6 separate regions of the Homo sapiens genome follow, and all the other regions are linked to region 1. The links are contacts of gene promoters, found by promoter capture Hi-C in blood cells and fetal thymus (Javierre and others, 2016). All regions are on one chromosome and are shown on one strand. The core of a region is centred on a gene start or on the middle of the fragment in contact, and the rest is flanking DNA. Distances in the headings are between cores, read along the strand shown.

Region 1 (4,832 bases), core at 1,773-4,272:
GTATGAATATACTACTTAATGTTAATTAACTATAAAGATGGTTGTGGTGAATGTCTGTATCCCCCCAGATTCGTGTGTTGAAGCCTAACTCCCAATGTGATGTTATTTGGAGGTGAAGACTTCGGGAGGTAATTAGCTTTAGATGAGGCAAATAAGGTAAGACCTCCATGATGGCATTAGTGTTAAGTAGAGGAAGGGAGACTAGAGCTCTCTCTCTCTCTCTCTGAGGATGCAAGGAAAAAGATGCCTTCTATAAACTAGAAAGAAGGTCTTTACCAGCAATCAAATATACCAATTCCATGATTCTTGGCTTCCCAGCCTCTAGAACTATGAGAAACAATTATCTGTTGTTTCAGCCACCCAGCCTTTAGTATTTTGTCATGCAAAGTGACTTAATACAATGGTTTAAAAAAAGATAGAAAGACATACAAAGTGGTATCAATATTGATATCAGGAGGCCAAAGTGGAGGACAATCAAGGAAGTGACAATAGATGAGGTCTATCTCTTCTGTGATAACAAAGACTGGATCATCTACTGCAATGAGAGGCAGAGTACTATAAAGGATCTGAATGTAATTAGAATAAGTTTAGAATTGTTAATTGGTAGATGATAAAGAGAGACAACTGGATCAAGAAAGGAAGTACTAAACTCAGTAAAAGGTCTACACAGGTTTGGAATGGGGCAAGTAGAAATCAGCAATATAATATTTTATGATTTTTCTTTGATATTTGTGAAAGTCCACTGAAGAGCATACCAGTGTGTATGTAATTAATTCTGAAATGACCGTCTTTATGAGAATGTATTAGAAATAACGTGTATTTAGGTTTGTTACATCCTGAAAGTACTTATCATTTACAATTAATTGTTTCCAGGATGTACAAAGTCATTGAAAGCCTAGGACAAATTATATTGAACTCTGTCCCCAAATTGCAGGTATTACTTTTTGAAACTCTTAATAGTTAATAATAAGAGCTACTATTAATGAAATGTTTTATCAGGTTTCAGGGATTCTGCTAAGCACTTTACAAGTGTTAATTCATTTGATTCTTACAAATGTATAAAAGAAGTAAGATTATTCCTAATTTATGTATGAAGAAACTGAAAATTTTGGACTTCTTACAATCTGACATTTATTCTTTATTTTAGGTATTTTTACATAAAATGGCCCTTACTTATTATCTTACGAAGTTTCACTCTTAGGTGAGTTTTTTTTTTTTTTTAACATAAAATGACCCTTACTTATTATCTTATGAAGTTTTACTCTTAGGTGAGTTTTACAAGTAAGGATACACAGGCATAAAGAGAATAGTAACTAGCCCTGGGTCGTACAGCAACTGAGTTTTTGCCAGAGCTCAAGGCCAGACAGTCTGAGTCTAAAGCCTGTTCTCTAAACTCCTCTGTTTCACTGATTCAGGCAGTGAAATACATGGGACAGATGAGCTCTATACTTGGTTCTGACTTGGTGGTACAAAGTCTGTTAACACCATTTTAGCCCTATGTTAGCTTTGCTAAGCCATTTCTTCAACCTATAATTTCTTAGAATAATGTTTAAAAGTATTCTTCCTATAGCATTTGGCCCTTTCCTTTTCCGATGCTAAAAATGTTGATCTTTTTACATTCCTGCCTGCCAGACAGCTTTTATACAGAAAATAGTACCTGTGGCTTTCCTTTGGAGGTGTTTCTCATCATTTAGAGGAACTCCATTTACAGGAGTTCTTACAGAGAAACCACATGGTGCAGATGTCAGTAAGAGGTCATCAAACCTGCCTCCATGGCTGTGGAGCTATTTATGCAGAGTTTGCTTCATTTCAGCTTCTGTTCTTATTGGAGCCAAAAAATGTACGTTCAAGTACTTAAATTTTTCCCATTTTATTTCAATCCTTAAAACTAACTCTTTCATAATATCAGTGAATTCATTCTTTCAAAGGAGAGAGACAGATAAGGAGGATTTCTATACAATTATCAAAGTGATACATAAATTCCCCTGTGGTAAAACAAGCTTATCCATATATCTAGAATAAATAATGTTATATACTTTGTGTTAATCACTAATGAATGTTCTTTTCTTAAAGAATAAATTTTCTTTTACAAATAAGTTTATAAGGTTTATCATTCCTTTGTTTCTTATAATCTGTAATTTAAAAATAAAACCTTTTTCAGATCATTGTAATTTTGTTAATTTAACTGCCTAAATATTGAATCTTATGTCCATACTCTCTTCCCTTGAGCATTTAAAAAATAGAAAGTTCATGTCACTTCATTTACCTCCAAGTCTTGCTCTGATAGAAATGTCTGGTACTTCCCTGGAATTCCATCTCCTGTTCTGTTGCAGTTCTTCTGATAGAATTTTTTGCCTTTTTATTGTTGTTTGAAATCCTGTGTCTGGTCTGGGAACTCGATGTTGAGGTTTCACATCACTAAAATCCACTAGGGTTGGTATGGTTCTGCCAATGCCAGGATTTAAATCAGCATCACCACCAGGACTCATAAACCCTGAACAGGAATCACCTAAGGTCACATCATCCCGAAGTGGAAATAATGGATAATGTGGCCCATATGGTGGGGGATAAGGATCATGTAAATGATAGTCTGGCAAAACTGAAGGGGGATAAGGGTGAAATTTAAGAAAAGCAGGGTTGCATTTCTTTTCAAACCTGCCATAGTTATGTCTGTTCTCAAGACCTTTCACAAAAGGCATGTTCATTTTTCTTAAGAGATCACAATAGTGTGGGTAATCTATATTCTCAACAGTTCCTGAAAGGATGGACCTTTTAGAGATACTTATCTTTCCAGGTGTGTCCTGAATTTCTACATCCATGGCCTTTTTCTTTAGAATTTTTGATAACTATAAAGTATTTCTGATAATTCCTTTATATTTAACTATATAAACTCTATTGCCAATAACTAAAGATCTGTGTTAAACTAGTATAAAATTGACACAGCTTTCTAAATGTTGGCAGATAATTTTGTTTTTCTTTTTAAGGCAAATATTTTCCTCCACCAAAGGAAGAATAGGGCAATGAAGGAACATGACATAAGGAGAATAAAGCAGAGCCCTTGTTGCCTGGCAACGGCTAGAATTCTTAACACATTGAACCATTTATTATGTACATCACAATTCTTAAGAAAAACAAAAATAGCCTTGGTACTAATATTTCCATGATACTTTTCTCCCCAGTGCTCAGGAAAGCTGTGTTCATTTACTTATTTTAAAATTTTTCCATAAGTTGGTATTTTATGGGTATAAAATATATTTAAGGAGTGTAAATAAAGCAGTTAATTCAGTGACAATACATTTCTCAAAAGTATATATGTGACTACAATTAAGTATTTATATATATAACACTTGCTATCTAATTAAATGTAAATCTAAATGCACTACAAAATATAAACATTACTAAAGTTAAATTGGTACATCTAATTTTTTTTTTTTGGTGGAGTCTCACTCTGTCGCCTAGGCTGGAGTGCAGTGGTGTGATCTTGGCTCACTGCAAGCTCCGCCTCCCAGGTTCACGCCATTCTCCTGCCTCAGCCTCCCAAGCAGCTGGGACTGCAGGCGCCCGCCACCATGCCCGGCTAATTTTTTGTATTTTTAGTAGAGATGGGGTTTCACTGTGTTAGCCAGGATGGTCTCGATCTCCTGACCTTGTGATCTGCCCGCCTCGGCCTCCCAAAGTGCTGGGATTACAGGTGTGAGCCACTGTGCCCAGCCCTAGTATATCTAATTTTTAAGAAAAACAGAAAATTATAATGAAAGTACAGGTACATCTTTACATGCCCTAAATTATCTTTACTTCCCTTAAATTTGCCATGGTGTCCAGAGTAAGAACAGTAAGAGTTTTAAGTTCATTTTAGGAAACCACAATGGGTATCAGTTAACTGTCTACACACAAAATATCATTTAAATCACTAATGTATTGGTTCACTTAAAAGCTCTTTCACCTGGATAATTTCATCTTGCATGAACTACTATAAGAGGAAATGCAAATATTAGAATTTGGGGTAAAAGTTCACATCATCCTTACTGCAGCAAAAATGTTAAAACAGGCAAGATTCTAGCTTTGAAGAGTCAGGCACATAATCGTTAATCAGGCCAACTGTCAAGGGTGATATGTTTGGTACAATCAGAATGCCTATGCCCCATTGAAAGTCTTTACAATTTTGAGATATACTATTAAACAAGTGAGATTAAATTAGGTGGTTAGGCTGTCAGTTTTAAATCCTTCATCCAGATCATAGCATATCAAGTGACAGTTTTTAGTCCACCCATGATCACTCATTTCTTCATATCAAAAGTGATAACTCACTTGTAATTAGGCATTCTACATTTAGTTGCTCAAACTTCATTCTTCAATGTATTTAAACCAACTGCTTAAGATTTATTTCTATCACAGCTCTGCTCCCATTAAGTAAATCCTTCCAGCAGCAGAAAAGTAGAGGCATGAGTCTCTTTCAATTTCTCTAAAACAAGTTCTAGCTATAAATGGCCTCTTAGGCTGTGTATGGGAAAATAATAACCCCCATAACTTTGTACTTAGAATGGATCCTTTACAAGAGACAGATTAACAAGAGAAAAACAGATGTTTATTAATATATTTCATTTATATATGAGGAACACCCAGAGAATGAGTAGTTCTCAAAGAAGCGTCTTTGAATTCCAGCTTGTATAGCATCTTCAACAAAGACTAGGAAATTTTTAGAGATGTGACAAAGGAAAAGGACTCTGAGTCTCTACAGGCAGTAACTTGGGCTAAGCAAACAAATAGCAGACAAAAGATGGTTTAAAAAAAGCTAATATTAATTCCTCTGATATCATTTCAAGGCTAATGAG
Region 2 (5,079 bases), core at 926-3,425, 620 kb before region 1:
CCATAGGGCAGGATTGTTGCTTTAAACACTCATGTGCTGGGCATAGAGTAATTGCTTGGTAAATATTTGTTGAATGGATCAGCCTCTCTGAAGATTGACTATATTTTTCTTCTGCTTGGGTGACCAAGAGGTTGGATACTCCAAGTCTCTGAAACTCTGTGATTGGTTATCCATGACTGTGTCACCCTTGGGTAAAGATTTTGAGGGGTTCAACAAGCTTAGACATTGGACAGTAATTGCAGGACCCCTCTTGCTGCTTAAGCGCTCTTGACCCTGAGAGCTGTGAATGGCAACCTCTGCTCTCAGGGTTTCGACGGTTACAATTTCAGTATGCACGGGACTTAACGTTGGGCTCCTGGTGAACTGGGTGTTAATGTGTTTTTGAAACCTGCCCTTAATGTACAAATTACTTTGGAGTAAAGTTAGATCTGTGGTCCTCAAAAACTGAAATATTAGATGTAGAGTGCGGGTTTAAGACCCAGGCTGGAGAGTCCCTGAGTTCTATACTCTGGGATCCTCGTGTGAGAGTGAGCTCTCACTGATCTCAGTCAGTGTGCTCAGGAAGCAGCAGTGAGCAGCCTGAGCCGAGGGCGCCGCAGTGGCCGTGAGAAGAAAGTGTGGGTGGAAGTGGATGTAGAAGGCAAAATAATCAGGATCAGTAAGCAGTTCATAGGTGGATAAGGAGGAGTTGGAGGCTGACTGATTTCTGCATGGGTAACTAACCCATGCAGATGGCTGACTGGCATTCAGGGAGGTGAAGGTAATGCCAGCATTTCAGAAGAAGGACATTTCAAACCAAACTCATTTTCCCATTCCCCAAACTGGCCTCCCCTCTCTCTGTTAATTCTCCCTTGAACTGGGCACTGGGCTTCTTGATTTGAGGGAGCTTGGATCCCCTTCCCTTTCTTCCTTCCTGCTGGACACAGTTCCGCAAGCCTCCGGATCTTGCCTTGGGAATCCCCTGTCCCCTCTTTGTCCTGGCACTTAGTCAGTGGGCTGGAATTGTCTGGGCCGACTGAGTCCCTGGCCTCCTCCCTTTGCTGGGCGCCCAGGGCCCTTTGGACTCCCTGGAGTGACAGAGGAGTCTCTGCCTGGGGGGATCAGAACTGGGCCTGCTGCATGTTGAGCAGTCTGGAGTGGGGTCAAGCAAAGCATGGCCATGGCCTTGTGGTTGCGTCTCGTAGGTCCCTTCAGGAGCTGGTACCAGCACAGGGTGAACCGATCTGTGTATCTGACCATCGCTCCTCAATGGGTCCAGAGACCCCAAGAACCTCATTTCAGAGAATGAGGCCTTGGCTAAGTGGTGCTAAAAAGCAATTTCCATCTAAACACCTGGTTGATAATATGGACACAGGAGAAGATACGCTGTCTTCAGATCTACTGATAATGAACGAGGTTCCTAACTTAGGGAGAAAGTGTTTAGGTAAAGAAATGTTTTGTAGCTTCAGTGGTGGATAAGGAGGGGCCTGTTGTCATATCTGTAGATTACCTGTATCTGTGTACATTTTAAGTTTGTATTACTTGTGTTTCCACACATGGTTCAAATTTCATATTTATGTATATATACATATATATGTGACTGTGACGCATGCGCATGCACACACACACACACACTCTTCAAGCTTCTCATGTGAGTGAGTGTCTCTCCTTGCGGTGGCAGCATTAGGAGCACATGGCCTGGCAACTGCTTCCTGTGGTGGAGCCCAGTTGCCCCTGACTCCCTTGCTGTTTGTTGAAGCTGGAGCAGTAACCAGACTATTGTGCTTATAACTGCTTTTCAAGTACGTAAGAGTAGGTTCACCTCTGAGTGGAAGGAATGGTGAAGACTTTCTGTGTTTCTGTCCTTGATACCCCCTTGCAGTTGTTAGGCTGCCACAAAGTGGGAGACTGTCTCCTTGGAGTTTGAGAAGGGAGCTAGCATGTGTTTTGTGACAGGACTTTGTATACCTCATCTCACTCAGTTTTCCTACCAAACTTTTTGAAATGGGTATGATCCAAATTTGCCTACAATAAAAGTGAGGCTCAGAAACTTTGGTTGACTTATCCAGCCCGGCCAAATAGCGGGAATGCAGAAAGTGCTGGCTGCAGCCTTTATTTTCTCTGGCCCCAAACCTGAGCTCCTTCCTCCCTCCCCTCATCTGGCCTCATCATTTGGAGGTAGTTTATCGTAATCTTTTCCATCTTCCTTTTCTCTCTGTGTGCCATTCTGGATAGTTTCTATTACTATGTCTTCATAGGGTGCTCCTACCCTAGACCTCTCCAGACCACGCCAGCCGTTGGGCGAGGGAGCCTCACAGTGTGTCTTTGGAGATTGGTCACTGGGGATGGAGGGAGGGGAGAGAAGCGTGGTGTCCAATGTCTGGTTAATCCTGCCCACATATTTTTCATCTCCTGTGTTGCATTTTTCATCTGTAGGGTTGGATTTGGTCATTTTATATCTTCCACTTCTCTCCTTATCACTCATGCTTTGCTTTTCCTTCTTGAATGCACAGAGCATATTTATCTTCATCATTTTAATATATCGCCTGCTGTTTCATCTTGGACATTTCTGTATCCGTTTCTCTTGGCTGATTTCCCTTATCGTTATGGGTTTTATTTTCTTTTCATGCCTGGTACTTTTTGTTTCGATCCCAGTCATTGTAAATTTCACCTGGTTGGGTGTTGGCTACTTCTTGGGAGGGGGCTATTCTTTTAAATATTTTGGGCTTTATTCTGGAAAGAAGCTTCTTGGAAATAGTTTGACCCTTTTGAGGCTGGCTTATAAGCTTTGTTAGCTGGGCCCAGAGTCACTTTTAGTTTGGGGCTAATTTGCCCCCACTGTTGAGGCAGGACCCTTCTGAGGGCTGTCTTGTGTCCCATGCGTAAGGAAGTTTTCCATTTGGGTTGGTGGGAACACGCTTCTCTCCAGATGGCTCTGTCTCCTTCATTCTGGTGGTTCTTCCCAGTCTTGGTATTTTCCTTACATGCATGCGTCATTAATCCTCAGCTGGAGATGTGTGTGGAGAGCCCCCTCTCTTGAGCGCTCTCCTCTCTGCCTTGACCTTCCTGAGTGTTGAACTCTGTCTCCTTAGGACGATCCTAGGCTCTGCCTGGAAGGGAGATTCCCCCTCCCTGCGCTGCAGCTTGGAAGCTCTCTCCAGCCAGTGAGTGGGCACTAGTAGGGCTGCGTCATGTGGATCATGTCTCAGGAATCACTGTCCCATGCTGCCTGTTGTCAAATGTATGAAAACTGTTTCAGTTTTAGTTATTTAGGGGGAGAGGGTACATCTAATCCTTTATATTCCATATTGGCCAGAAGCTCAGAAGTCACCCATGATATTATTTTAACCGTGGTTCTAGGAGTAGATTTGCTTTGGAACATTTTTGTGGAGTGTGCAGACCCAGCTTTGGAACTCAGAAGAAGTTTAGACGTCATATGGTCCAAAAACCTGATTTTATTGGTGAGGAAATAGGCCCAGAGAGTGAAGTTATTTGCTCAGAATCATAGTTTGTCACACTGGCAGTTTGTAAACATTTGGCTCATGCCACAATAAGATTTTTCATACCTGAAGGGCGAGGTGAACTGTTTCTTATGGCCCACAGCAAGGTTGGGATCCACCAATTGTTCCTGCTGTAATGGCTGCCCGAGTTTGGTCTTACTGGGAAAAGTCACTCTTTGGCAGAGGGATTGAGTTTCCTGAGCCCTGGGATCTGTGCTGTTTATTCATTTTTATGAATAAAACGAGCTTTATCCAAAGCCTCTGGGGAGCATCACTATGAACCGCCGTCCTCTTGCCCTGCCAGCCCAGCCCTTCTGCTTGCACCTGGAAGCTGCTCCATGCCCTTCCCTGCTCCAGATCGCGCCTGCCCTTCAAAGGGCTGCCACACCTGGGAGCCCCAGGCTGGAGCTCCAGGCCAGACCTAGCTTACCTCATTCCGCCTCCAGCTTCTTGGCATTGGCTGCCATTTACCCTTGGCCCCCTGCCCTCTACCTGTGGGAGGGACTTAGAAATGAGGAAAAGCCACCACCAAGGATTCATCATATCAAACCCTGGGGCCTTTTCCTGGTCAGCCAGGACAATGAGAGTTATTTCCAAATTCTGAGATTATTGTTGAGAAAGTTCAAGGAAGAGATTTCTCTCTTCCTTCTGCTCATGGGGGAAGAATGTGGGTGTGTCATGTGCCTCCTACGGCCCTGATCTGCTAGGAGGGCAACCCTGGCTCTGTTGATCACTCTCACAGCCGCACATGGTTTGGTTCTCTGGTTTTAGTGTAGAGGTTGCTGGGGTTGTGGGACCCAGAGAGAAAACGAGAAGCTTGAAGCTGAAGAAGTTGGGTTCAGTGCAATTGCAATGGCTTTGTGCACCCCACCTGGGAGCTCAGGAGGGCTCAGGATTGCACTCCGTTTTTTGTTTTTTTTTTTGAGACAGAGTCTCGCTATGTAGCCCAGGCTGGAGTGCAGTGGTGCAATCTCGGCTCACTGCAAGCTCCGCCTCCTGGGTTCACGCCATTCCCCTGCCTTAGCCTCCTGAGTAGCTGGGACTACAGGCGCCCGCCACCACACCCGTCTAATTTTTTGTATTTTTAGTAGAGACGGGGTTTCACCGTGTTAGCCAGAATGGTCTCAGTCTCCTGACCTCGTGATCTGCATACCTTGACCTCCCAAAGTGCTGGGATTACAGGCATGAGCCACTGCTCCTGGCCTCAAGTTATATTTAAAGTATATAAATATAATTTGACTATAACTTGCATTGTCACTGATCCTCTTGTGGTACTTTAAAGATTGTGTTGTCAAAATTATTAAGTGGGTAGTTTAGAGATTCTGATCTTCTGATTTCTCAGACTGTTAAGTTACTCTAGAACTCATGATCGATTAAGGTACTGCTACATGTTGACTATTCTAACAAATTAATATTATGTTAATACATGTGGATATTTTGGTGTCTGAATAGTTGCCTTTTTGTTGAAGTTGGGGATGGAGGAAGTGGTGAGGAGGGGTGAAGGTAGGGGAGGAAGAGGTAGAGGTGATGGTAGAGGTGGTGGTGGAGGGGGAGGAGGATATAGAGATAATGAAGAGTGTGGAGGTGGATGTGTTGGTAG
Region 3 (4,374 bases), core at 1,508-4,007, 990 kb before region 1:
ACTCCTCCAGTGAACTTTTTAGTTCGGTTATTTTATTTTTCAGCTTCAGAACTTCTGTTTTTTATAGTTTCTGTCTCTTTATTGATATGATTCTATTCATGCATAGTTTTGCTGATTTTGTTTAGCTGTCTTTCTGAGTATTCTCTTGTAGTGCACTGAACTTTAATTTTTTTGTCTTTTCTGGCCATAGATTTCCATTTATTGTTATTTCTCTCTAGATGTTTATTTTGTTCCTTTAATTGGGCCATGTTTCCCTGTTTCTTCATGTACCTTGTTATTTTTTAATGTAATTTGTGCATTTGACAAAATAGCCACCTCTTCCAGCCTTTACGGACTGGCTTCTTACAGTGTAATAACATGTCAGTCAGCTCAGCTAGAGATTCTTGGGGCCTCTCAACCCTTTTCTGGATATCCATCTTCCCTGGGCTTGTTGGTGTATTTTCCAATTAGAAGGTTTGCTGATTTCTTCTTTATGAGCTTGTAATCTCGTGCTCTCTCTTGCATCTGTCTATGGTACTGCAGATTTTCTGGCACTGCGGCCAGCTTCTGAGCTCTCTTATTTTCTAAAGCCTTCAGTCATCCATAGTATTTCAGTTTTGTCTGTATTCCTGGTCAACTGAGACAGAAATCAGTCCCTGAACAAGCCTCCCCACAAATCCAGAACATTGCATGTACTTTTTACTCATTTCCTCCCGAGGGATAAGCAGTGAGCTGGGTGCTTTCTCTTGATTGCACTGAGCTGTGCTGGCCTTTGCCTGTGGCACTGGCAGATCTCTGCTGTTGCAACCAGCCTCTGAGCTCCTTTTTTCTCAGTAGCTCCCAGGCATTCAAAGTGTGCCAGTTTCCCATCAGTGCTCCCAGTCAGTCGAGACATAAACTAGTCCCTCAGGCAGCCCCCCTGAAAAGCTGGAATGTTAGATGTACATTCCATTCTTCTCTTTTCTTCCCAAGGGAAAAGCCATGAATTGGGCTTTTCTCCTGCAGACACTGAGCGATACTGGGTTAGGGGAAGGGCTGTCACAGTTGAGGTGAAATGGCTTTTCTTACCCATTTCAGCATGGCCATTCTTGGCATTAAGCTTGCCTATGGTCCTGTGCCTTCTTAACTGGTTTCTGGAGTTCTCATAAAAGCTTCTGGATTACAAATTGCTGTTAAGTTGATGTCTTTGTGGGGAAACTGAGGTGCGGGGCTTCCTTTTCTGCTATCTAGTCAACATCACTTCTTCATGACAAGGAGTCTTAAAATTGAGATAGCAATTTTAGGATCTTGTCTCTTCACTGAATTTTATGTGTTGTATACCTGAGGAGTTTTAGTAAATGGATTTATTGAAAACTCGAAAAATAAAGAGAGAAAAAGAAATGTGAGGAAAAGATAAAATTACAGAGTGTTTTAAGAAGTTTAATTTGTTATTGCCAAAACCAAATAATTTTAATATTTAGCTAAAGGCAATAGGGGCTAATTTAGTTAATTATGGCTCATCAATTCTGTGGAGTACTAGGCAGCCATTAAAAAATAGTTGAAATTCTGCTAAGAGGGTTGATTTTAAGTGTTTTTACCACAAAGGAAAAAAAAAAAGATAAATGGTAATGATGTGAACTGATAGATATGTTAATTAGCTTGCTTGTGATTATTTCACTATAGATATGTATATCAGATCATCAGTTGTATACCATACACACACACAATGTTTACTTGTTTGTTCCTCAGTAAAGCTGAAAAATTACAGGAAAATATATGGCTAACAAAACAAATCTATGTCTCTCCCTCTGAAACTCCACTAAAAAAAAGTATTACTTCACTGTGACAAAGACGAGAGAAGCAATGGCCACTGATGACAGTTTTCAGTAGACACTTTGGGGACTACAGTGTTTTGTTTTTTGTTTTTTTTTAAGACGGAGTCTTGCCCTGTTGCCCAGGCTGGAGTGCACTGGCATGATCTCGGCTCACTGCAACCTCCATCTCCCAGGTTCAAATTATCCTCCCGCCTCAGCTTCCCGAGTAGCTGGGCTTATAGGTGCCCGCCACCACGCCTGGCTAATTTTTATATATTCAGTAGAGACAAGGTTTTGCCATGTTGACCAGGCTGGTCTCAAAACTCCTCACCTCAAGTAATCCACCCGCCTCAGCCTCCCAAAGTGCTGGGATTACAGGCATGAGTCACTGTGCCCAGCCTGCGGTGTATTTAGATTGTGATAAATACCTAGTAAAGCAGAAGAAGCTGAAACTTGACTGCTGGGTGAAAGAGGCCCAGCAGAAGACGCCAGATCCTAGGACACTCAGGAATTTGGGGCACATGTTTGTTTGCACATGACCGTGGAACGAGCTGATGATGAAGGAATGGCTGAATGCCTGCATGTGAAACAGTAAGATCTCCATACCCCTGCCTGCCCACCACAACCAGATGTCTGCACTGCCACCCCCTGCAGTGGCAGAACTAAGAGGCTCTGACTTCAGGACATCAGGCACAACCAAGTCTGCACCGACACAGGGATAAGCGAAAACCCACATGCCACAGGAGAGCTTCAAGGCCCTCTCACCAGAGTACTCGGGAAGGCCTAGTTTCCCTCAGGCAGGAGCTGGGCTTCCCCTGTGCAGAAGATGGCCGAGCTAGCAGACAATCCTGCAGGTATGAATATCTGGGGATCTCTCAGCTACTGCATTTCTGCCCAGATCCCCACTGGGAATCCCATTACTGTGTGAACAGACTCTAGACACAGAAACATACATATTATAAACAATCAGTCATGAATTTGAGGAAGACTCAAAATATGATAAGCAGAGGCCAAGACAGAGAGCAGAAAGGATGCTGGAGGAAAGTGCGATGCATATGGCTGAAGAAAATGGAAATTAAAATGTGGTCTTGAAAAAGATATAAAGCATAAAGCATAGCTTCTGAGAGGAAAGAGAAGCTATGGTATCCAGGAAACAAGACCATGATGCTATTTTTAAAATACATAACAAGAAGGGGCTCTTGGAAATTAAAAACAAAAAACAAAAAAAAAACAGTAACTAATTTAAAAATTCATGAGTCTTACAATGGAGAAAATTTCCAAGAGGGGGGGAAATCAGAAAAAATTTAGGCAAGAGTACTCAAGAAAAAAATAGACAATTGAATTAGAATCCTCAGTGTTGAATTAATTGAAATCCCAGAGAGAAAGAAACAGAGGAAAGAAAAAGTTGAAAAGAATAACACTAAAAAATTCTGCAGAATTAAGGATATTCAGATTGCAGGGGTCAGTGAATGCCCCAGACAATGAATGAAAAGAGCCCCACCCAGCACTTGCCATCATGAAACTTCCCAGCAGGAAGGACTCAGAAGCCCCTGAGCCTGCAGAGGAAAAGCAGATACTATGCAGAAGATTGAGCCCCACTCTGGATCCGGGTGTCTCAGCTGAACAGTTCCAAACTAGGAGACAGTGGAGTAATGGCTTAGCATTTTGAGGGACAATTCTTTTCATCCTAGGTTCCTGTAGGCATCTATACTGACTGTCCAGTATAGTAGAATAAAAACATTCTTACATTTTGAAGGTCTCAAAAATCTTCCTCATACGCATCTTGTGTCAGAAAGTTGCTGGAAACTGGGAACCACTAAGATGCAGAGAATTAAAAAAAAAAAAAAAAAAAAGGCGGGGCCGGGCACAGTGGCTCATACCTGTAATCCCAGCAATTCGGGAGGCCGAGGCGGGTGCATCACTGGAGCCCAGGAGTTCAAGACCAGTCTGGCCAACATGGCAAAACCCCATCTCCACTGAAAATACAAAAATTAGCCCGGCGTGGTGGCAGTGCCTGTAGTCCCAGCTACTCAGGAGGCTGAGGCAGGAGAATCACTGGAACCCGAGATCGCGCCACTGCACTTCAGCCTGGGCGACAGAGTGAGACTCTGTCTCAAAAAAAACAAGCAACAACAACAACCAAAAAAACCCCACACAAAACAGGTGGAATATCCATAAGGATCAGAACTGAATAGAGGGAATGGGAATTTCCAGGAAATGCAATTAAAGAAAAAAGCTAGAAAACAAATCAGTTATCAGGTTCAGGGAAAACAAAAAGGTAATTTAGAAATTGTAATTATGATATACATTATACATCTCAGGAGGAGAAAATTCCTGCTGAAGAAAACTTATATTTTTCATAATTTTGATATCTACTATAACTAAATATATATAACTAAATAGTAAATATTAATTTAAATCTTTTGCTATAATTTTTTGGAAAATGGAGAGGAAAAGTATGAGTCTGTGCGTGTGTGTGTGTGTGTATGTCTCTGTGTGTGTGTGTGTGTGTTTGTGTGTATGTGTGTGTCTTAAAGAACCAAATCCTCATCTTCTGGAGTAGATGCCAATACCTAACATGGAAAAATCAAGAAACAGTACA
Region 4 (5,013 bases), core at 2,153-4,652, 650 kb before region 1:
TTGTATGGTTTCACACTGCCACATCCTACTCTCAGTGGCACCCAGGACAGCGTCCTTACAGCTCAGATACTGGACTCTGGGGCCTAATTGGGAAGAGAGCAAATCCCAGGCCTTGTTCAAGATTTGCCAAAAGAATGAGATTAAGATCTGATGCCACTATCTTCAGTATTTCCTAATTTAGCCAGAGAGTTTACTTTAGCATCTAGAAAGTGTGATTAACTACTTTAGCGTTTAGAAAGAGTGATTAACTTTTTGAGGCCTTTAAAAAGTTTTCTTTAGGTAAAAAGATGTCTTCTGTGAGTTATTTGGGTTTTATTATAGGGACAAATGGTTTACCATCTAATATTGATTGGAATGACTTTGGAGCGCATTTAGTTTATAAAGTGTTTAAATCCAAGGGCTGTTTTATAGAGCATCTTTTATTTTTCGGATAAAGTTCTAGCCGTTTTCCCAACAGTTATGAAATTCACTATTTTTAGGCGGCAAAGACAGATCTGAGTGGTTTTGCTTTTCCTTCCCGTTGGCTTTATCTATTCCCAAAGGAAGACAGTGCTTCCGGACCAGTGGGGGTTATAGTTGGTAATGTGTTGTCATGGCAATTGTTCCCCTCTTTGTCTTAATTGATTTGGTGTCTTAATTTTTGTTTCTCTTTTTATAGTTTAAATGTACAAAGATCTATTCCTTGGAAGACACCCAAAGGCATTCGGTAATTTGTAAGAATTTGTAAAATTCAAGTATCAAGGATTCCAAAGGTAGAAACAAATCTTTAATGAATTTAGAAAAATATTAATATATCAGAGAACAATAAGTTCTTTTAAAAGGAACCCAATTTTAAATCTATATTTAAGTAATACGCATTGCAAATTTAAAATTACAGTTGACTCTTGAACAACATGGATTTGAACTGTGTGAGTCTATTTATATGTGGAGTTTTTTTCAGTAATTACTAGAAAATTTTTTTGAGATTTGCAACAGTTTGAAAAATCTTACAGCATAGCCGAGAAATACCAAAAAAATTAAGAAAAGGCTATGTCATGAATGCATAAAATATATGTAGAAGACTAGGCTGTTACTCTAAAATATATACAAATCATAAAAAAGTTAAAGTTTGTCAAAACTTACACAAACACAGACCATACATGGAGCCATTTGTTGACAGAAATGTAAAAAAACCCATGAAGGTGCTGTATGAAATCATCACTGCATAGAATTAACTGTAGTACATACTGCACTTAATTTCATAGTTATGAAAATTACTGTACTACTGTAATAATTCCACTGTTGCTGTGAGCTCAAATGTTGCAAGTATACGCTTTAAATGCCATGTGATGCTAATCATCTCCATGTGAGAAGCTCCCATCCCAGTAAATTGCTCATTGCATTAAAAAGTGACCTCTCGTGGGTCTTGTGTATTTTTCATGTTTAATGCAATACCGTAAACTTTGAATAACACAGGGGACCCATACTAGTGAAACTGGAAGTGCTCCCAAAGAGCTTACTTTATTCTAAGAATACAGTATGTAATAACTATATGACATACAACATGTGCGTTAATGACTTTCTGTTATTGATAAAGCTTCTAGTCAACAGTAGGTCATTAGTAGGTAAGTTTTTGGGGAGTAAAAAATTATACATGAACTTTTAACTGCATGGGATGTTCGTGCTCCAACTCCTACCTTGTTCAGTGCTCAGCTGTGTAATGTTTATTCTTCTCTCCCCATCCTTCTCCATGCCAATATTCCCAGGGTGCATAAAGGTAGGATGCTTTGATCTCTGGAGCACCTGATACTGCTCCCTCCCTGCCGTCCTTTTCTTTGACTCCAGCCTGCCGGCCTGTGATGGTTCTACGCGGTTTCTTTTCTTTTCCATGAAGTCCTGTGGTCGTGGTGTTGCAGCGCCTGCGTCCTAATCTCTACGATTGAGGCAGTACTCTGACCTGTTCCACAGTGTGTCTAGACTTCATTGTGCACATGGGTTCCTCTTCTCTGCACATGCCTACCACAGAGCAGGGGTATCCACTCTCGGTGAATGCGGCTTGAGAAGGCTGCATGTGGAGGTGGCCTTCATCACCCCACCTCTTTTCAGGGCTAGAAAATTGGTGTTTTCCTCTGGTGAGGCTTTTAGGATGGAGGGATTCGAGGACCTCCTGCCTGTGGATAGCCTAGGCTGTTTTCTGTGGTTACCTTTGCTCAAGTTTTCTGTTGACTTTCTGGGTCTCAGATCAGTTGGATCACTGCATTAACAGTCCTGCCCTGGGCATTCATGTCTGTGTGTGGACCACAGCACGGCAAAAGGGAAGACCTTCTCTCTGACACCAGTGCTAGTGGTGAGGGTGCCTAGAAAGTGAAAATTAGTTTCTGGTGTCGGCCTCTCCTGGTTCTCCTGAGTAGGATCTTGCTGTTGGGGTTCTGTGCTGTCCCCTTCAGGACTCAGGCTCTGGATTTGCGGAGAGCATATCTCAAATTAACTATGCAGCTGTGCAACAGGAGTAACTGCTGGCCAAGTTACTTGGATTCTTTCTCATCGGTTGAGTGGGGATGCTGCTAGTGTGTCTGCACAGGTTTCTTGAGGGGACTTGATGCTTCCCACAAATGACAGTAGGGATGTGGCCACCGTAAAGTGGTGCTGTGCTTCGCAGCACTGCGTGATCTGACCCACGCTTACGTTTCAAAGCCATTGAAACAGATTCAAGATCATGTATTGATTTAAAAAATTTACTCTTTTCTGTCGGGAGGCTGACCAGACTACTGAAGTGGAAGGAACTGTAGATGCTTGAATAGAATATGCCACACAAGTCTTTTTCAAACTGCTGAGAATAAAAAATCAAAGGTCATCCTCATACCTATGGTCACATATAGACCCTTGTACCTAATAATGTGCAGTTGGAAGCAATGAGGTCATGCTTTGCTGCAGATAATTAAAATAGCTCTTGAATCTGTCCCTTCTCCCCCTTCTCCCATCAATGCATTGTGGAAGAAAAGCGGAAATTGGTGTTCTAAAAGGCATTCTTTGTATTTGCATATGCCAAAAAACCCAAGAGTTATTATTTTTTTTAAAGGCAGGAAGCAGAACAGGTACAGCTTTTAGTTAGGGATCTAGTACTTAGGATTCAGTTAGGGCATTTTGAGGAACCGAGTATAGTTTTTACTTCAAGCAGTGTAGTAGCAGCAGTTTCCCCCTTCCCAGCCCCCAGGAAGTGAGATATGATTCTTCAAAGCGTTACTGAATTTTTTCCCCAATATTTTCCCCCTGCAGACATCATAGAAACCAACAGTAATTTAAAGAAAAGAGTGGTGGTGCTTACCTTTGGAAACAGCTGAGGAGCTTTTAACACTATTACCCCCCACCCCCTCCCCATCCCCGAGATTCATTTTCCTTGGTCTGGGATGCAGCCTGGGCATGCAGAGTCTTCCCCTTTCCCCCTAGTGATGTAATATGCAGTCCAGTAGTTGGGACTATGTCAGCAGTAGAATCATGCAAGGGCTTGCAGAAACACATGTTATGGGACCACACCCCCTCCACTGAGTTTCTGGTTTAGTAGGTCAGGGTCTGGGCTCCAGAATTTGTGTGTTAACAAGCACCCGGGTGATGCCCATGCTGTATGTCCGGGGACCATCATTTGAAAACCCTAGGACTTGTAGGATCCTGGTTAAGAGCATGGACTCCTGCACTGAGCTTCGTCTCCTTCATTGAGTCCCATCACCAGCCCTTGGCCTTCATCTCAGCACTTCATTTTCTTGTTGTGATCAGTGGGAATGGATGCCGTGTATGTGTGTGTGTGTGTGTGTGTGTGTGTGTGTGTGTGTGTGTGTGCGCGCGCGCGTGCGCGTGTGTTTACACATAGACAAATACATAAAAAGCACTGAGCCAAGTGCCTGTTATTAACAGGTGCTTCAGAATCTTTCTTTCCTTCCCTTGACAAATTATGGTCATTGATTGGTTCTTCCATCCAAGTCCATTCACTTTCTTTATATTGGTAGGTGGGTGGAGTTTGGGTTTTACTCAGTTTCATCTTCACTGTTTATATTTTAAGTGTTTTTACTTTAGATGATTCTGATTTGGGTTTTTTTTTTTGTAAAAATTAAAATTTCAGTAATGTTCAAAATTTATTTCTTTACTGGTGTGCATAAAAATTACTGTGTGATTAAAAATCATTGTATTTCATTGTTTAAAATTTTGTATGTTTTTTTGACTATACATTTAAGAGATTTGTCTTTTATTATATTTCTTGGATTTCAATTTTGTCATGCTTTGCTTTCCGATTTTTGACTGTATATTTCCCTCTTTCTGGTTCAAGATGGATGGGTTGGTGTTCATTTATTTTGTCTTTATAAAATATGCATTTCATGGCATGAGTTTTTCTTCTTTTATTTCTCTTGCTTCATTTTATTTGTCTTGACACATGGGGGTGTGCATTGTCCTAATTGTCTAGGACTGTATTGTATCTTTATTTCCTCCTTGAACCACTTATTTAGGCCAGAGCTTGTTTTTAATTTTCAAGTGCCTTCGTTTTTTTTTTTTTTTTTTTTTTTTAAACACATGTTCCTAATTTCTGGTTTTCTTTATTTGGATGTAGCATGGAGCCCCTTGGCACATTGGCCTACGGTCCCTGTCTCAGTGCTGGACATTTGGGGTCCTGTCTGCAGCTGCATGCAGGCTGGGAGGAGGCAGCATGTAACAGGTTTTTCCTTGGGGCCGTGTTCTGCAACTCCAGAGATCTTTGCATTTTTGTAAAATGCACTACTCTTCTTTGTGGTTTAGTATTTTTAAAAAATAATAATTTTGCAAATGTTTATAAATATTTGCAAATGCCTGTTTTTCATAAATATCAATTAATGCCTTCTCATTACTCATTCCAATTTTATTTCTTTGTCCTACATAATAGACCAACATCTGCAACAACTAGTTTTCCTCGTTTTCTCCTTGAGACTCTCATAGTGTTTGTTTTTAATGTAAACTTTTTATTGAAGTGTAAACTTTTTATTAAACTTGCTTCTAATTTTAGCTCTTTGT
Region 5 (4,894 bases), core at 1,482-3,981, 550 kb before region 1:
TCTTCCTGCTGTGGCTACCTCCTGCTGCCCCACCACACAGTCCTCCCTCGGAGCATGCACTGGGGCCCACGGCCTAGGGCTGACAGTGCCTAGGAAGACGGTGCCTGCCTGCTGCCCGTGCCCAGGAAGATGCCTTGCTCCTCATCGTACTGGGGCCAGCTGAAGAAGGGCACAGAGGCCAGCAGGGGGGAGTGTGAAGTGGGCCCTGGTATATTGCACTCAGCAGTTGCTCACCTCCTTTGTAACCAGTTACATGAGAGGGGACAAAAATTCTTCATTGTATTCCAGTAAGATTCTAGTAGGTACCAAGAGCATAACTAGGAACAGCTTTGGGAATGTGAATTCTGACCACAGTGAATTGTGTTGTTGAGGGCAGGAATCCAAAGAAGACTGGGCCATTGGAGGATCAAGAGTGAATTATCTCCATGCTGATAATTCTGAGTCAAACTAAACCTGGTGTGCAATAAGCCAAAGGATGAGGCAAAGAAAACGAAGGGGATGGGTAAAAAGAAACATTTTGATAGAAAAATCTGCCGTCTCAGCGAAGTCTGCGTGGTGTCTGCTTTGACCAATCTCATGCTATTAAGATTTTCAGGTATTTGATCGGAGGGCTTGGTTGTTAGCAAGCAGCGGAAGTCTCAGAATCCTTCTCCTCCCACTCTGGAATGACCTGGTCTCTGGACACATACCTGGTGCATGTGGCTTGTCTCTTTCTCTGGTGACGCTGTATGGCCATCTCCCTCAAAGGCATTGTTTGTTCTTTTATTAGCAGTCAGTTCAGTGGCCCAAGTCCCTGGAAGGCGTTCTTCTCTTATTCTGTGTCCACCCTCTTTGGTGTAATTTGGAGTTCCCCTAATAAAGGACAGGTTGCTTCTATAGAAACCGAAGTTGTTCTGTAGGTGAACAACTTTTATGCCATAGAGACTAAAGAGAACCAGATTTGCCCCTGCCATAACCGTGGCCCTGATGGGAACCTAGAAGCTTGCTGCCCAGCCCACCAGGTCTCAGGTACTTAACGGGTGTCTGCAATACTAGCAGTGTGTGCTCTCATATTCTTTTATTATAGATGGTATTCCACTTACTTTTATAGATGGAGTTCTTGTTTTAATTTAGTTTTATATTGTCTCAGCCACTGAATCAGTCAGAACCCTGATTTGGAACTAGAAATACACATTATTTACATCTAGGTTTTTGAAAATTTGAAATCCAAAATTCTACCTACAATTTCCAGAATAGATCAGGGCCCTTCCAAGTGGGGACAGTACATGGAAGCCTGAGATGAAGAGGTTAGAACAGACTGAGTGGGACCTGTGTGGCTGGGCGTCCAGTGAGGGTCGTCAGCAGGGTCCAGCCCTGCCAAGAGGTTGGGTTGGATGGAAACACAGAAGAGACCATTTGGATTTGGTCTTTCAATGCTGACAGATTACCTTCTTCAAAAGAGTGGCTTTGATGTTATAAAGCTACTGTCATGAAAACCACATGGTTTGAGTTGAAGAATGGAGAGTGAAAGTTCTGTGCACTGAAGCATGTACTCAAGAGAGTCAAATACATACAAGGTTAGAATCTTGTAAAAGTGGCATCATTGTTTAATTTAATGTGCTCCGACAACTATAAACTATTTGGATGAGCAGCTGAATTAGGGCCTTATTGCACACTGTTATGGATTGAATTATGTCCCCCTCAGAATACATAAGTTGAAGTCCTAGCCCCAGTTCCTCAGAATGTAGCTTTATGTGGAAATAATGTTGCAGATGTGATTCATCAAGATGAGGTCGTACTGGAGTAGGCTGGGCTCCTTAGCCAATATGACTGGTGTCCTTTTCTAAGGGGAAATTTGGACACAAATAGACACGGGACGAGAATGCCACATAAAGATAAAGGTGGAGATTGCAGTGATGCTTCTGTAAGCCAAGGAATGACAAAGATGCCAGCAGCCGCCAGAACCTCCAGGAGAGGCCAGAAGTGGGTTCTCCCTCCAGACCTCGGGAGGATCAGACCTGCTCGCATCTTGATCATGGATTTCTGTTCTGCGAAACTGTGAGACACTGAGTTTCTGTTAAGTCATCTAGTTCATGGCATTTTGTTATGGCAGCCATGGCAAACTAATACACATACACTGAAATATTTTTAGGTTGATTAATCTGTTAATAAAAAATCAGACCGTAGGAGGAATAGAAAAATATATAGTTGAATAATTAATTGGTCCTCAGATTAAGGAATGAAACCCTAACTATTAAAGCAATAGGTAAAATCATAGTGGAAGATTGCTGGATTTGACCATGAAGAAAATTAATGCTGTAAATCAAATGTTAAACTGTTGATAAGCTGCAAAAGAATATTTGCAATATTTACATTTGCAATATCCTAAATAAAGAGCTCTTATAAATCAGTAAGAAAAAGGTAAGTCTCCTCTCTCTATCCCTTGATTTTTTTTCTCCCAGGAGATTTTCCTACTCCCAATTTATTCACTACTTTCATGAAAAAGACAACTTGTTACTCCTTTTCTTCCCCCTTCTAACTTCTCACCTGGTGTCGTAGCCTTGGGCTTAGTAGGCAGGACCTGCTCTCAATGAGAGCCACCTGCTGTGTCTACCACCTGTTTTATCCATTCCCCATCAGCACTCACCTGCCTGTCTTCCCACCCAAACAGGGGAACACATCCTTACATCTTCCCAGGGCCACCACTCCATTTGCAGCTGCCCCCTTTATCTTCTCTAGGACGTTGAGTCTGTAGTCATTGATTTTCTTTTCCTTCCTCCATGGTCAGTTTCATCCTCATTCCAGAATCATTCCTGCCTGCATGCAGACGTGCCTTGACACATCTCATCTAAGTGAAGCCCTTCTGTGGCCACATTCCTCTCTGGCTGCTGCTTCCTTTTATGCTGCTTTTCTGCAGACCTCCCAGGACCAGCTGCTTGACTCCCTGTCTCTACTTTTCCTCTCCTGGTTTCTCCCCCACCCACCTTGGTTGGCGCTCTGTTCTACTAGGTGCCTGAAATGGGTCTCATCAAGGGGCCTTGTGGCCTGCCTCTAGTTAAGATCAGTGGCCAGTTGGGGGTGGCATCTCAGCAGCATGTGACACAGCTTTGATTCCTAGAAACTTGCTTCCCTAAGTGTTTTCGACCCCAGCTTGTGATCTCTTCATCTCTCTGCTCCTTCATCCCTTCGCTGTCTCCTGCTCTGCCAGGCTGCTTGGTGTTTGGAGGCCCGCAAGCCTCTGTCCTCAGCCTCCCCCACTCTAGTGGTCTTCTCTCTGAGAGACTGCATCTGGCCCCATGCCGTCAGATGCCATCTCTCTGCTCATGACCCAGATCTATAACCAGGACAAGTCACCACTGAAAGGTACCCTCCGTCTTCACTTGGGTCTCTAGTTGCCATGTGAAATTTAACAAAAGAAAATATAGTCGAAGCACACCAAGGCCTCCTCACCTAACTAAAAGGGGTCATTGTCCGCTCAGTTGCTGTGGCCAAGGAAGAGGAGCATATCCTTGATTCCCCCTTTGGACTCAGGTACAAATCCAGTCAACTCTCCCTCTCCAATGTGTCCCATATCCAGTGCTTCCTGTCCTCTCCACCATGCCATCTCCAGTCCCAGCCTGGGACGACACAGCAGCCTGTCTCCTGCTCACCTCACCTTGCCTCATATCATCCACAGCCCAGCAGCTCTTGTATGATTTCTAGAGAGTCATTTGAATCCCACTGTTCTCCCATCACACCCAGAATTAAATCCAAGCTCTCCCCTGTGGGGTGTACAGTCCCGTTCTCCATTCCCTCCCCCGTGTGTGTCGTCACTGTGTTCTAGCTGCCCTGGCCTTCTTGGTCCCTCACATTTGCCAGCTCAGGTCCACCTCTGTGCATTTCCCCTGTGGCGTCTCCACACAGAGGCTCTTTCCTGAGACCTTTTCTTCACTGCCACTTGGTCATCATTCAGGTGTCAGTTCAAATATCTCTTCCTCTGGGCCTTCCTGGGCTTCTTTGGAAAAGGCAGTGCCCCTGGCCAGCCTCCCTCTGACACAGCACTTGCTTGTGGTCTCCGTGTTGTTCACTGTCTCCTGAGATTATTTTGTTTGTTCTCTGTTTTACCACTAGAACGTCAGTCCCCCAGAACAGGGACAGGGTCTCTTATTCACTGCTCTGTCCACACCTCCGAGAATGGAGCCCAGCACATCCCAGGCAGACGAGTACAAGGACGATGGCCTTGTTTTTATAGAAGTTCTGGATGCTCCTCTAGGGGGATGGTCGCCCTTGCTTTGGCAGAGCCAGGATCAGAACCCAGCTCCCCAACATGGGTTTCTTACCCCCAAGTCCCGTGGCCACTCAGGAGCAGGAAGAAGAGGCAGCTGACCTTAACCAATGCATCCATCAGGAGCTAGCCCGACCACATTGAGTAGGTCTGAGGCCTGGGAGTCCCACCCAGAATATTTACTTTGTCCTCTCCTAGTGGAGCGGGAGAGCTGAGAAGATTGCTCTCAAAAGCTTCAAAGAAAAGGACCTGGGACTACTTCAAACAATAAGTCCATTGTTATGTCTCAGTGACCTTGATGACCTCCAGAAGTAGTGTTCTGGGCTCACAGCACACTGCCCTGAAGAAGGGAAACTCTGGAAGCCCAGAGGGAGTAGCTGTAGGAGGGATGTGGTCAACTGGAAAGTCCCCAGGCGTTCTATGGGAGGGGGACCTATGCTCTGCCATCCTTGGGCTGGCAGAGGACTTGGGATAAGGATTCCCAAAGGCAAAACTGAGGATGGGTCTTCCTTACCGCCTTGGGTCGAGGCTCTGCCTTCCTTTCCCTCACAGATTAAGGCAGTGGTTAAAATTACTGCTTTCAGAAGATTATCATTTTCCTTGGTTTCCTAATGCTCCTTTTTAAACCTTTTTAAAAACGTTCCAGCAGCC
Region 6 (4,671 bases), core at 1,594-4,093, 690 kb before region 1:
TTACTGTAATTAGAAAAGTTGTGTACCCCTAAAGTCATCTATTGCATATTATCTGTTTGGTCACTTTTGGGGCAGCGTTGGCCCACTCAAAATGCTTTTCATTTGTGGATCAGGAACCCAGAACTGGGCAGGTTCATGCCAGCTACTTGTCCAGAGCTTTGTATGGTGATGGCCACCAGGACTGGGACCAAGGGCAGCCCTGACCCAGTTTAAAGAGCTATGTCTGTGTCTACTCAGCCTCCAGTAGGAGAAGAGAGCAGAGTCAGACTCGAAGAGTTAGCTCAGAACTTGATTTTGGTGATCTTTCCGGGTACAGGCTATATTATGTGTAGAAATCAAACTCCAGCTTGAACACAGTCATCTATTGTGCCTTCAGCTTCATTTTAGAGCTGTAGAAATTCTTGATTGGTTTATCTGGTAAAACCGAATGCTTTAAAGGTGGCATAATTTAAGGAATGGAATCTATTTCCTTGGAATTCTGTCCGACTCTTAACTGCAAGGGGAAGAGAAACCTACGGGATCGTAGAATGTATTTGAGCTTGTATCTAGGGTTAGGTTGCCAGCCTGTCAGAGCTCAGAGCTAAATGCAGGGGATTTTGGTCCTGCTCCCTGGAGGGGAAGCCTGTGCCTTTGCACGTTTGCTCCGTAATCCCCGCGTCTGTTTCTCAGTTTATTAAACCAACGTGGCATTGTATGGCTTGTGAGGAGAACATATTTGCCTTGTCTTTCATTTGAGTAATCAGTCCTTCAAAGTTTAAATAAACTTTTTTTTTTCCTGGTAGTGGAGACTTTTCTTTTAACCTGTGCTATTTTATTTTTTATATAACTGTAGAAGTACAGAAGTGTGGGAGATTATGGAAGAAATTAAGGTCGTCCAACTACTTGGTGGGTGAGACTTGGCAGACAGGTACTTTGGAGTTCTAGGGATCACTTTCAGAGTTTGCATACTATTAGGGGTATAACTGGTCTGATCCATTCAGCCCCTGGCTGGTATTTAATTTGTGTGAATATTTTAGCTGCACACTTTTAGGGAGCTGTATCTGTTTTCACTCCTTGTTCCTCTTGGCTGGGACACCTTTGCATCAGACTCCCACCCCCAACCTGGACCACTTCTGAACTGATCTCTGAGAAATGAGCTTTCCTGCACTTTTGTCTTCTGGAGGCTTTTGTCCATGCTCCTGGTGATCACAGGGCCTGCTAACTGCAGGGAGATAAAAGCAGTCAAAGCTTAAAACCACCCGCTTACTCGTGGAAAGGCAGGCTGATGGCTCTTCTTTAATAATGGATTGAAAAATGGTGTGATTGTCCTTTGAGATGGCAACAGAAGAAGCCATTTCCTGGGGTTATCAAAAATAATCTCAGAGGTAGAAATGAGTGGTTCTGATTTTTTTGCTTTTAGGATATAGTGACTCTAAGGAGATTTTTTCTTTTCCCCTGTATTAGAATATTCATATTTTTGAACCATCTACTTTACATATGGATTTCTGGGGAGATTCTTCTAGTCTTTTCAGATCCCTAATTTGAGGGGCTTATTATTTGGGCTGGACCCAGCAACAGAGTGGACTTTTTGTTGTTAACGTCAAGCCTGAGAACGGGCGCTGGGGAGGAATAACCCCTCCCACCATATCGTTTCTTTTCTGCTCTATTTGACCAGGGCAGCAGGCACACTGCCTCAGTTGACTCCTGGTTGTACTACTTACTAGTTTGGCCAGGCTGAACAAGTGAACCAACTTGATCCGTTAAAATGGAAGCCATAGGCGTGTTTATCCCCACGGCTTGTTGGGAAGGTAGCACGAGGTGTGATGTGTGTGATTGGCACGATGCAGAGCTCATGCAGTCTTTGTGGCGATGTCTGTAGGCACTTTGCCGTCAGCCTTGTCTTAGAGCAGTTTGTGGACTTGATATCCTGCTTGCTATTAATTTATAAGGTTGGTTAGAAAGGGGACTTGGCTTTTGTATTTTTGTCTTCCAGTGCTTTGTACATGCTAGTTGCACAAAATCTTGTTTGAATTTATCTGAATGTTCTTTGAGCCACAGTCAGTGCTCAGAAGAATCCTTTTGTTGACTGTGTTTAGCGTGACAGTTTGAACTCCTCACAGGTAGAATTCTAAGAGCAAAGATAGCTGGTGTACTGCAGACTTCACTTGGCTGCAAACCATTTGAACCAGATAATAGTGAATAGCAGGTGTCAAAAATTGGTTTCCTTCAACCAGGAGCAGAAGTTGTGAAGACCCCTGCAGTGCGTAAGCTCTGATGGGCAGCAGCATTGGGTGTGGAGACAGATCTCTGGTCTCCAGGCCTGTGGAGCCTGTGGCATTTGTCTTCAGGCCCCCACGGTTGGTGTCTGGACTCTTACAGAGGCACTTATCCTAGCTGGGACTGAAATGACTGTGGACCGCTTATCCTGGTCAGGCTGATGTGCCCCTGGGATGTGGCTCCGAGCTCTATCCAGGGCTGTGCTAGTGGGCAGTCCTGCTTCTCCCTGAAGTTCTTGAAAGGTTTTGTATTAGGTAAATGGAACTGGGCATGAACAGTGGCAGTCTTGCCTATTAACATGGGTTTCCCAAAGTACTTGGCACTTTGGCGTGTGTTGGTCCTCATCATTGTGTCATTAAGGTCACTAGAGCTAATGTGGGGTTGGGGGCTGGGATCCTCATGTGCTGGGTCAGTGCAGGTGGCACTGCGTTGGGGACTGCTCTCTGTCTGGTCCTGTCTGTGAGCTGTCAGGGGTCTCACTCTGGGAGCTCCAAGGGGACGTCTGAGCAATAGAGGACCATGAGGGATAGCTGAAGACCCGCTTTCTACCTTCTCTTGTCCTTTCACATGGGAGTCGAGGGTCAGGAACCTCCAAGGCTGCTCACTGCAAGCTACCTGGGCCCCACTGAGATGGCAGGTCCCCACTTCTCTGATGTGCAGGGCCTTTAGTTTACTTATTTGATTTTTAACTTTCATCCCTGGGAGTATTTAGGCAGTGGCTTCCAGCCTTTTGTAAGTGAAGAGTTCCCTTTAGTATAAAAACCTTTATAATACCACATACCTCATAGAATAATTTTTGGATTCCCTGCTTTGAGAAGCTACCATGAATTGAGTAACTTTTAAATTCAGAAGTTTGTACCACAGCTTCCTGCCCAGGGACAGTGCCTGGTGCTGAGCCTGGGGCCCTGCTTGAGATCGCTGTTCCTAGACGGTCTTCACATCCTGTGGGAAGTTGAGCTGGCTGGGTCATGTTCAGTGCCCTCTAATTGTCCCGTATGGGCTGATTTGAGCCAGAGGGCACCTCCCCCGCCCATCTTTTCACCCTGGCCACACCACCCTGGCCCAGGACAGGCTGCAGGGGTGTTACCTGAGCTTCCAGGTGTCTGTTCTAGGGTACCGCACTCCCTCTTCTGAAGAAAATCACGTGCATCTCACAGAATCCCCTCCAGAGAGGAGAACGTTGAGTGTCTTGGCCTGCGATCCTAGTGAGGTGATGGAGCGACGCAGGAGGGATAAGTCAGGAGGGCTTCCTAGTGTCATTGTCGCCTCATCTCTCCATCACAGGTCTCCCCGGCCTTCTCCCCACCTAGGCCTGCAGGGCAGTGAGTGGACACAGGCTGTCCCTGTCCTGACCCACCGTCCCTGCCCAGGGCACTGTCCCCCTGCTGTCCTTGCCTGTCCATATCACACAGTGTTTCTGTTCTCTTCGTCTGAAGGGTCACCTGGTTTCCTAATTCCTCAACACCCAGAGCAAACTATTTTAAAATTTAGTTTGGATTTTTAAAATCAGAGTGATATGTAGACATAGGTTAAAGATGAAATAATTCCCCAGAAGTAACTTATCAGCAGATTTTTTTCTGTACGTACTTCCATATTTCTGAAGAGGTCTAGACAATAGATTGCGATTCCTGGCAACCTCCTCCTCCTCCTCCTCCTCCTCCTGCTCTCCAGAGCCCCATTTTTCATGTGATTCTTGATTTCAAACTCCATGGAAGGTGAGGATGATGCCCTTTGTCCCATCCCCACCCTACACTCACTCTTGTCTCTTCATCGTCTCTTCTGGTCCATTCAGCTCCATCAGTATGCAGTGTTGGGATGGTCCCCTAATGCTGCTCATAGCTGAGCCATGTAGTATACTGTGATAACTGTGATTTTCTCCTAGGACATTTTGTTTTCTCCTGGAGTTGTTTTTGCCTAGTTTTTAAAATGTACTTACCATTCTTCCCTCCAAACTTACAGAGTTGTGTGAATCTCTTTTCCAAGGCCTAAGGTGATCTGCAGTTTTATCTTTGGAAGCAGTTCCTTGTGTGCCTTTCTGCTTTCAGCAGGCTGGGTTGCTCTGAGGCTCCCTGCACAGCTGTTGTCTTGGAGTCTTTCTTCTCCATTGTCCCAGGAATGCCCCTTTGCCTTTCTCTTGGATCTCATGACTTTTCTTCTTGGTTTATTTCCAAAATTTGATGGAGTACTTTCTATAGAAGCTTCCAAAAAGTGGTGCACAAGATGTCAACTTTTTGAGACCTTGCATGTCTGGGAAAATGTCCATCTACTCTCACAGTTTACGGTTTGTCTGAATATGGATTTCTAAATTAAAGATAGTTTTCCCTAAAACATTTAGAGGCTTCCATTGCCTTTAGGCAGAATGGGGTTGAGAAAGAAGCTCTTCTGATTCTTGATTCTGTGTATGAAAGAGTACCA

Evidence for each region. Contacts are between HindIII fragments. The CHiCAGO score rates a contact against its expected background, and 5 or more counts as called.
Region 2: a contact is called between a fragment that was not itself captured here and the fragment with the promoter of SPMIP7 in region 1, in 8 of 17 cell types (naive CD4 T cells, naive CD8 T cells, activated CD4 T cells and 5 more). The highest score is 8.9, in naive CD4 T cells.
Region 3: a fragment that was not itself captured here is called in contact with the fragment with the promoter of SPMIP7 in region 1 in 1 of 17 cell types (M2 macrophages); the score reaches 5.0 in M2 macrophages.
Region 4: a fragment that was not itself captured here is called in contact with the fragment with the promoter of SPMIP7 in region 1 in 4 of 17 cell types (naive CD4 T cells, total CD8 T cells, fetal thymus and 1 more); the score reaches 7.5 in naive CD4 T cells.
Region 5: a contact is called between a fragment that was not itself captured here and the fragment with the promoter of SPMIP7 in region 1, in 8 of 17 cell types (activated CD4 T cells, naive CD8 T cells, non-activated CD4 T cells and 5 more). The highest score is 9.9, in activated CD4 T cells.
Region 6: a fragment that was not itself captured here is called in contact with the fragment with the promoter of SPMIP7 in region 1 in 2 of 17 cell types (non-activated CD4 T cells and activated CD4 T cells); the score reaches 6.8 in non-activated CD4 T cells.

Annotation. Positions count from the first base shown.
Region 1 is chr7:50,094,073-50,098,904 of GRCh38, reverse strand. It overlaps SPMIP7 (sperm microtubule inner protein 7), which reads right to left and starts at 3,022. Exons shown (of 9, transcript NM_001161834.3): 1 at 2,267-3,022. The coding sequence starts at 2,819. LOC124901630 (a long non-coding RNA gene) reads right to left here. Exons shown (of 2, transcript XR_007060321.1): 2 at 4,564-4,832. The HindIII fragment of the contact is 3,144 bases long and covers 2,003-4,832 here.
Region 2 is chr7:50,713,986-50,719,064 of GRCh38, reverse strand. The region is part of intron 4 of GRB10 (growth factor receptor bound protein 10); the gene reads left to right. Among named protein-coding and RNA genes, the nearest start is that of GRB10, 66 kb to the left of the region's middle. RefSeq lists an enhancer at 3,340-3,855. The HindIII fragment of the contact is 1,101 bases long and covers 1,625-2,725 here.
Region 3 is chr7:51,087,030-51,091,403 of GRCh38, reverse strand. All of the region lies in intron 6 of COBL (cordon-bleu WH2 repeat protein), which reads left to right. Among named protein-coding and RNA genes, the nearest start is that of COBL, 230 kb to the left of the region's middle. The HindIII fragment of the contact is 3,249 bases long and covers 1,133-4,374 here.
Region 4 is chr7:50,741,072-50,746,084 of GRCh38, reverse strand. All of the region lies in intron 3 of GRB10 (growth factor receptor bound protein 10), which reads left to right. Among named protein-coding and RNA genes, the nearest start is that of GRB10, 39 kb to the left of the region's middle. The HindIII fragment of the contact is 3,648 bases long and covers 1,579-5,013 here.
Region 5 is chr7:50,648,392-50,653,285 of GRCh38, reverse strand. All of the region lies in intron 7 of GRB10 (growth factor receptor bound protein 10), which reads left to right. Among named protein-coding and RNA genes, the nearest start is that of DDC, 85 kb to the right of the region's middle. RefSeq lists an enhancer at 1-399. The HindIII fragment of the contact is 3,495 bases long and covers 984-4,478 here.
Region 6 is chr7:50,786,516-50,791,186 of GRCh38, reverse strand. It overlaps a transcript of GRB10 not described here. Among named protein-coding and RNA genes, the nearest start is that of GRB10, 6.0 kb to the right of the region's middle. The HindIII fragment of the contact is 3,227 bases long and covers 1,230-4,456 here.